Linked DNA regions of Homo sapiens: region 2 is linked to region 1. Evidence: promoter capture Hi-C in human tissues and cell types (Jung and others, 2019). All regions are on one chromosome and are shown on one strand. Each heading gives the region's core, a stretch centred on a gene start or on the middle of the fragment in contact. The rest is flanking DNA. Distances are from core to core; before and after follow the strand shown.

Region 1 (3,136 bases), core at 634-3,133:
GGACAGTCCCTTCTCACACCTGGGGCCTATACTTCCCACTTGGGGCTGCTCACCTGAATCCTGGGTGGGTGGAAGGATGTGGAGGCTGGTTCTTGGTGTCCATGGTTCCCCTCAGGGGACTGTGCTGCAAGTGGAGGGCTGGAGGGTGCTGAAAAGTGGGGCAGATGGAAGGGTGGTGTCAGGGGCTGCCCACATGAGCCATGGCAGATGAGGAGCTCCTCTGCTGTGTGACATGGCACGTAGCCAGCCCTTGGCTCCTGCCTCCCAGGTCCCCATCCCAGACAGGGACATCCACATTCACTTCAGGAGTCCCAGCCTTGACACACCTCTCCTGGGACTCCCACCCTAGCCAGGAATGTCCACACTTCCTCCAGGAGTCCCTCATCTCTGGTGGGACCCCAACCTCACCCACTTCCTGTCCATCGACATTGGGCTCCTCCTTCACACTGCAGCTGAGCTGGACAGACCCCTCTATTCTGGTGTCCTGGGGACCTTCCCCAGGGGACTCCACTGTCCCTGAGGGGTGGGGGCTCCCAAGTGGTTCCTCTGTCTTCTGGGCTGCAGGGAGCACCTCCTGCTTCAGGACATGGGCTGTGATCTGAGGAGAAGAGGTAGGTCACAATGGCTCTAGCCAGGGTCTATCCCTCCAAGAAGCTGATGCCAGCCACACTCACCCAGCCCAACAGTTGCCCAGGGTCATGCTGCAGTCCTTCGACTAGGGCAGCGGCCTCCTCAGGACTGCCTGGCCGCTGACCGCGCACCCAGGCCTGGATCTCGGGAGGCAGTGTGCCCAGGAACTGCTCCAGCACCAGCATCTCCAGCATCTGCTCCTTGGAGTGTGCCTCAGGCTGCAGCCACTGGCAACACAGCTCACGCAGCCGGGCCAGGGCTTCTCGGGGACCTGCCACCTCCTGGTAGCAGAACCCTCGGAAGCGGAGGCGGGCAGTCTCAGGCTCCTCAAGGGTGGTCTCTGGGTCCATGACGGGCAGGCATGGGGGACCCAGAGGGGATGGCATTCTTGCTCAAGGGGGTGGTCTTGGAATCGTCAAGATGGGCCTACAGAAAAGGAAGGGTCGGAATGTCAGCCAAGAGAATCTGGCCAGGGGAAGGCAGACACCAGGCTCAGCCCAGGGGGCTGAGACCAGGACCAAGTGTACTCTGAGGCCAGAAGAGATAAGGCCAAGAAAGCTTCATGGAAGGAGGAGGGTCACAGGACCCAAACAATGATGGCAAATGAGAGCAGGAGGAAGCCTCAGGGACAAATGCTTGGACGCAAGGTGTCCAGGGAGCTTCCTGGAAATTGCAAACAGTTGGGTCCAGCAGGGGACTGCTGGGAGATGACGCTAAAGAGGTGGAGAAAGACAGTCATCACAGAGTTCCAGCGCCAGGCTGAGGAGCCACAGTGTCTAGCCGAGGTGCGAGGAGAGTGGACCAGGGTGGGCGGGTAGAAGGTGGGGCCAGGCTGTAATGTACGGGGACGAGTCGCCCTCCACAATCTCGGGGAGGTTGACTGGGTGGGACCTCCTTTAGGAATGGCTCTGGGGAGGGGGCACGTGGACATCGTGCTCGCTGACCACAGCGAGCCGTGGGCGACTCACACTGCCGGGGCCCGTGCATGTGAAAACGAAAAGCAAAGGCCAAGAAAAACGGGGCCAAAGCTCCACGTTGCGCGGAGTCGAGGGATGGCCACAGCATCCCGGCCCTGAAGGTCTGCAGTGAAAGACGCCCACCTGGACGGGCCTGAGAGACCAGGCCTGACACCCGGCCTATCCGAGGGATGCTCGAACTTCGGGATCTGTCCCCAAAAGGGGAAGGCAAGAGGGAGGCGTTCCAAGAGGACTTGCCAGGCCCGGCCCCCCGGAACGGCGTTGAGGGTAGGAAAGGCCTGAGCGAAGGCTGAGGTGACGCGCGCGGCCTGTCGGGAAGTGGGCGGGCCCTCCAGGGCGCCGACAGCAGGAGCCGTTCAGGCCCCAGAGGGCGACCCCAAGCCCTCCCACGGGGTGGAAAGGCTGCGCCCACTCTGGCAGCCTGCGCTCACCTCAACCCGGAGCGGTTGCTTGGAGGCCGCTTCCCGGATGTGGCGCCGCACAACGCGGGGCGCCTCAGCCGGGTGTTGCCCCGGCGACGCCGCGCTGACCAATCTCTCGCCTGCACCGAAGGCACCGCCCATGCCCTTTGAACTACATTTCCCATGAGCATCAGCAAGACAGGCGCGACCGTGACCCGCTGACCCGCATTTGCAGCAGCCTCTGACGCCTGAGAGGCGCTCTGTTCCTCTAGGAGGTACGGCAGAGTCCCAGGGTTATATGGTCTCCCTCCGCTCTGAGAGCAGCTCTTCCCGGGTTATAAACTTGCGCGTCTGTACAGTGGGCCGGTTTCTATTGGCAGGTGAGGGGAGGGGGTTTTGCCCAATCAGAGGTGGCGCTTGCTTGGCCCCGCCGCCCCCACGCCATTCCCCGGGCCAGCCCCTAGATAACGCTAGGGCATATCCGCCCGCCTCCAGCTGTTCCCGTGGCAACGTTCAGGAGCGTTGCCTCGACTTCCGAAGAGGCTGGAAGTGGCGGCCCAGTGGTTTCCTAGGTCGAGTAGTTCGCTGGGACTCGCTTCCAAGTGGACCCGGGAGAGGCGGTGGTGTAGAAGACCACCCTGAGCCTGGGCTTTCTCCCGCCAGGAGGGTGCGAGGGCCATCTTTGACCTCTGTTAAGCGCCCTAAGGAGGTACCGACGGTTGTGACCGCAGTCTCTGACGTCTTCAGATGTCAGTCCTACAAAGTCGGGGGTGGAGGTTTCCCTCCAGGCTGATCGGACATGCTCAACCGTTTATTTACCTTTGAATTTGGGGAGCAGAACTAGCCAGGGTGACACTAGTTTCTCCCAATAAGCAGTGTTACAGTTTTCTAAATCTGTGGGGTCAGTTTTGCTTCCACACTTAAAAGTGGCCGAGCCATTACTTAGTCAGTCCTAAATTACACCGCCTGTTTTGGTTTCTTTGGATACCTGGGAATCCCTGCTGCCTGCTCTGGATGAAGAGCAGTGGTCTTGATCACCGATTGGAAGCACCGAGCATGTGCGTGGATGAGACTTGTCAACTCGGAGCTTTCCAACGGCCTCCTCAGGTTGTTTTTGGGGATGAGGTG
Region 2 (3,136 bases), core at 637-3,136, 1.2 Mb after region 1:
GCTTTGTGGTAAACGCGCTGAGGGAACTGAAAATAATAATAAAAAATACCCTGCTGTGTATGGCCATTTACCAACACACACATATATATTGAGGGTCTACTACGGAACAAAAAGGAATGGGGCAGTGGCCGGACGTGGGAATGATAAAGGAAAAAGAAATGGCCACAATGTGTCTGGTTTGAGTAACATGACAGAAATTAGGGGGATACACTGATGTTCTTCAGGCATCTCAAACACACCTAAAACAACATGCATGCCTTAGCCCTTCTCTACTCCTTCTCCCCACCCCTCCCACATATCCTCAAACCCAGACATTCTCCGTCTTTTCTACAGTCACAATAGCTTATGCAGGCATTAAAGAGTGAGTCTGGTTTATCTCATTTGCTTGAAGGAATGGCCAAGATGTACTGTCAAATAAGAATAGTAGATTATAAATAAATGAGCACAGTTTGACCCATTTTAGTAAAAACAAGTGATGACCAGGAAACAAAGACCCACCTTATGAGAAGCAATAAAGTGGTTAAGGACATGGATTCTGAAGCCAGTGCAGTGGCTTCCAGTCCCCAAACCCAAATTTCATAATTGTGAAATCTTTGACAAATTCCTTAATCTTTCTGTACCTCAGTTTTCTAATCAGTTAAAGGGGGGAAATAACATTATGGAGTTGTCATAAAGGTTAAAAGAGCTGACGCATGTAAAACATTCGAAACAATGTCTGATACACAGTAATAATTTGTGTTCTCTTATGATGATTATGGGTGCATCCCCACGGCCAAGGTCATGGCCACATGATACATGCATATAGGCTCAGTGAGTGCAAATACAGAAAAGGTGTGGAAGGATGACCAGTGGTTAACGACATGAGAAACATCCAACCTGGAGACACAGATTTAGGGAAACACTGTAGATAATTGAGAGTAAAGTGTCTTCAGCGCAAATTAACTCAGTCATGGGGTGAAGGACAAGTTAGAAAACAGCAATGATCATGATGGATGCTGGGAAGTAAAGCTGTTTTACAGATGGAAGAAAGACACAGACCCTAAAAAGGAAAAAAGCCAGGAATTCACAGAAGCCAGGAAAGGACCTTCAAGTCAGAGATTTAGCAGTATGGAGGTCCAAAAAGAGAGTGAGGGGGTCAAAAGGGACCTTTCTGAGACGTGCTTAAGTCAGGCAACGGTGGTGGAAGCCATTTAGTAGTATCTGGGGAGTAAAAGGAAATGTAAAGGGGTGGCGACAGTGCACAGAATAGTTACTCAGGGCATGTGTGTGGAAGAAAGAATAACCAGAGCTTGATAGGCAAGGAAGGGTGAAATAGGTTGGAAACGAGGCTTGAGATCCGACTAAAGCTATACATTATGGGAAAGAAGCTGGTTAATAAGGAGAAGTTAAAGACTAAACAAGAGTATGAAAGACAGAGGACTTAGACAAGTTTGGTTGGGGAAGGGTGTGTGTGTGTCTAATAAAAAAGTGTAAGAGTGATCTTAGAAAAGGAATGACCCCTTCTCCATTGAGGATATAACAAGGCTTACAGAGCTGGAGGATTTTACATACAACCTTCCCGTGGAGTACGTAACTCTGAATGATATGCAGATCACCCTGATATAAGATCTGTTGACAGAAATATTTAAGAAGCCCAATATAAAAGATTACAGGACTTCTACTCCTCCAGATAATTTAGGATTTCTATTCAAATATTGAGACAAACCACCAGAAAACCATGACTCTGGAATTTAGTTTTTTCTGTTTTCTGAGCCCTTTAGTATTATAAACTAAGCAAAGAAATCAAAGATGTACAAAAGAACCAAATGGAGGCCAGGCACAGTGGCTCACACCTGTAATCCCAGCACTTCGGGAGGCCGAGGCAGGTGGATCACCAGATCAGGAAATCGAGACCATCCTGGCTAACACAGTGAAACCCCGTCTCTACTAAAAATACAAAAAATTAGCCGGGCATGGTGGCGGGCACCTGTAGTCCCAGCTACTCGGGAGGCTGAGGCAGGAGAATGGCATGAACCCGGGAGGCAGAGCTTGCAGTGAGCAGAGATCGCGCCACTGCACTCCAGCCTGGGCAACAGAGCAAAGAGTCTGTCTCAAAAAAACAAAACAAAACAAAACAAAACAAATGGAAATTAAACAACTGAAAAATACAAAAACCAAAACGAAAACTCATTGGACAAGCTCAACAGTAGACTGCATATGGCAGAAAAAAAGAATCAGTGAGCTGAAAAAAAGTCAACAGAAATTAACCAATATGAAAAAAAGGGAAAAATAGACCAGAAAAAGGGGGTAAACATGAAAGCACAAGAGACCTCTGAGACAGTAACAAAAGCTCTACCATTCATATCACAGAGAGGAGAAAGAGTAGGGATGAAAAAATATTTCAAGAAATAATGGTTAAAAATTCCCAAATTTGGCAAAGGGCATAAACCGACAAATCAAAAAGCTAAACAAAAACCAAACATGATACACTCAAAAAAATTCCATGTCACACACCTCATAACCAAACTTCTGAACACTACAAAAAAAACAAAACACTTTGAACGCAGGTTGATAAAAATGGCACATTATGAACTAGGGAACAATGGTTCAAATGGCAACAGATTTCTCATCTGAAACCATAGCGGACAGAAGGAACAAACATGTTTCTCAAGTACTAAAAGAACTGCAGACCCTAAATCCTATTATCCCACAAAAATATCCCTCAGGAATGAAGGGAACATAAAGACACTTTTAGAGACACCAGCAGACTGACCCTAGAAAAAAGGTTACACAAGTTCGCCAAACAGAAAGAAAATGTTAATAGAAGGTGGCTTAGAATTTCAAGAAAGAATAGTGGAATGGGTAAAGAGATCAACAAGCAATACTTCCTGTGACTTTTGTAAAATATATTTGACAGTGGAAGCAAAAATTACATTTTCCAACATGGTGCTCAATTTTGAAGAGGAATTACTTTAGACAATTATATTAACAGGCAAGGTGAAGGGACCAAGTAAGGTTTCTATACATCAAAGTGCTAAATTTTTCATACCATTAACTGTAATTATGTTACATATGTACATTATACTACTTAAAGCAACCACTAAAAAATTAATACAAAAATACAAAGAAATATATTTAAAAAACACTACAAATATAT

Evidence for each region. The method cuts DNA at HindIII sites, captures the fragments that hold promoters and counts their contacts. A contact is called where the count stands out against the background at its distance.
Region 2: a fragment that was not itself captured here is called in contact with the fragment with the promoter of ZNF446 in region 1 in 1 of the 25 tissues and cell types used here (spleen).

The regions. Positions count from the first base shown.
Region 1 is chr19:58,475,099-58,478,234 of GRCh38, reverse strand. ZNF446 (zinc finger protein 446) reads right to left here and starts at 1,883. Exons shown (of 7, transcript NM_017908.4): 1 at 1,731-1,883; 2 at 675-1,056; 3 at 409-598; 4 at 54-148. The coding sequence starts at 1,016. ZNF324 (zinc finger protein 324) reads right to left here. Exons shown (of 4, transcript NM_014347.3): 4 at 2,799-3,136. RefSeq lists enhancers at 1,625-1,824, 1,979-2,273, 2,095-2,344, 2,585-2,644, 2,705-2,794. The HindIII fragment of the contact is 17,703 bases long and covers 1-3,136 here.
Region 2 is chr19:57,258,480-57,261,615 of GRCh38, reverse strand. It overlaps ZNF805 (zinc finger protein 805), which reads right to left. Exons shown (of 4, transcript NM_001023563.4): 4 at 1-3,136. Among named protein-coding and RNA genes, the nearest start is that of ZNF805, 19 kb to the right of the region's middle. The HindIII fragment of the contact is 9,939 bases long and covers 1-3,136 here.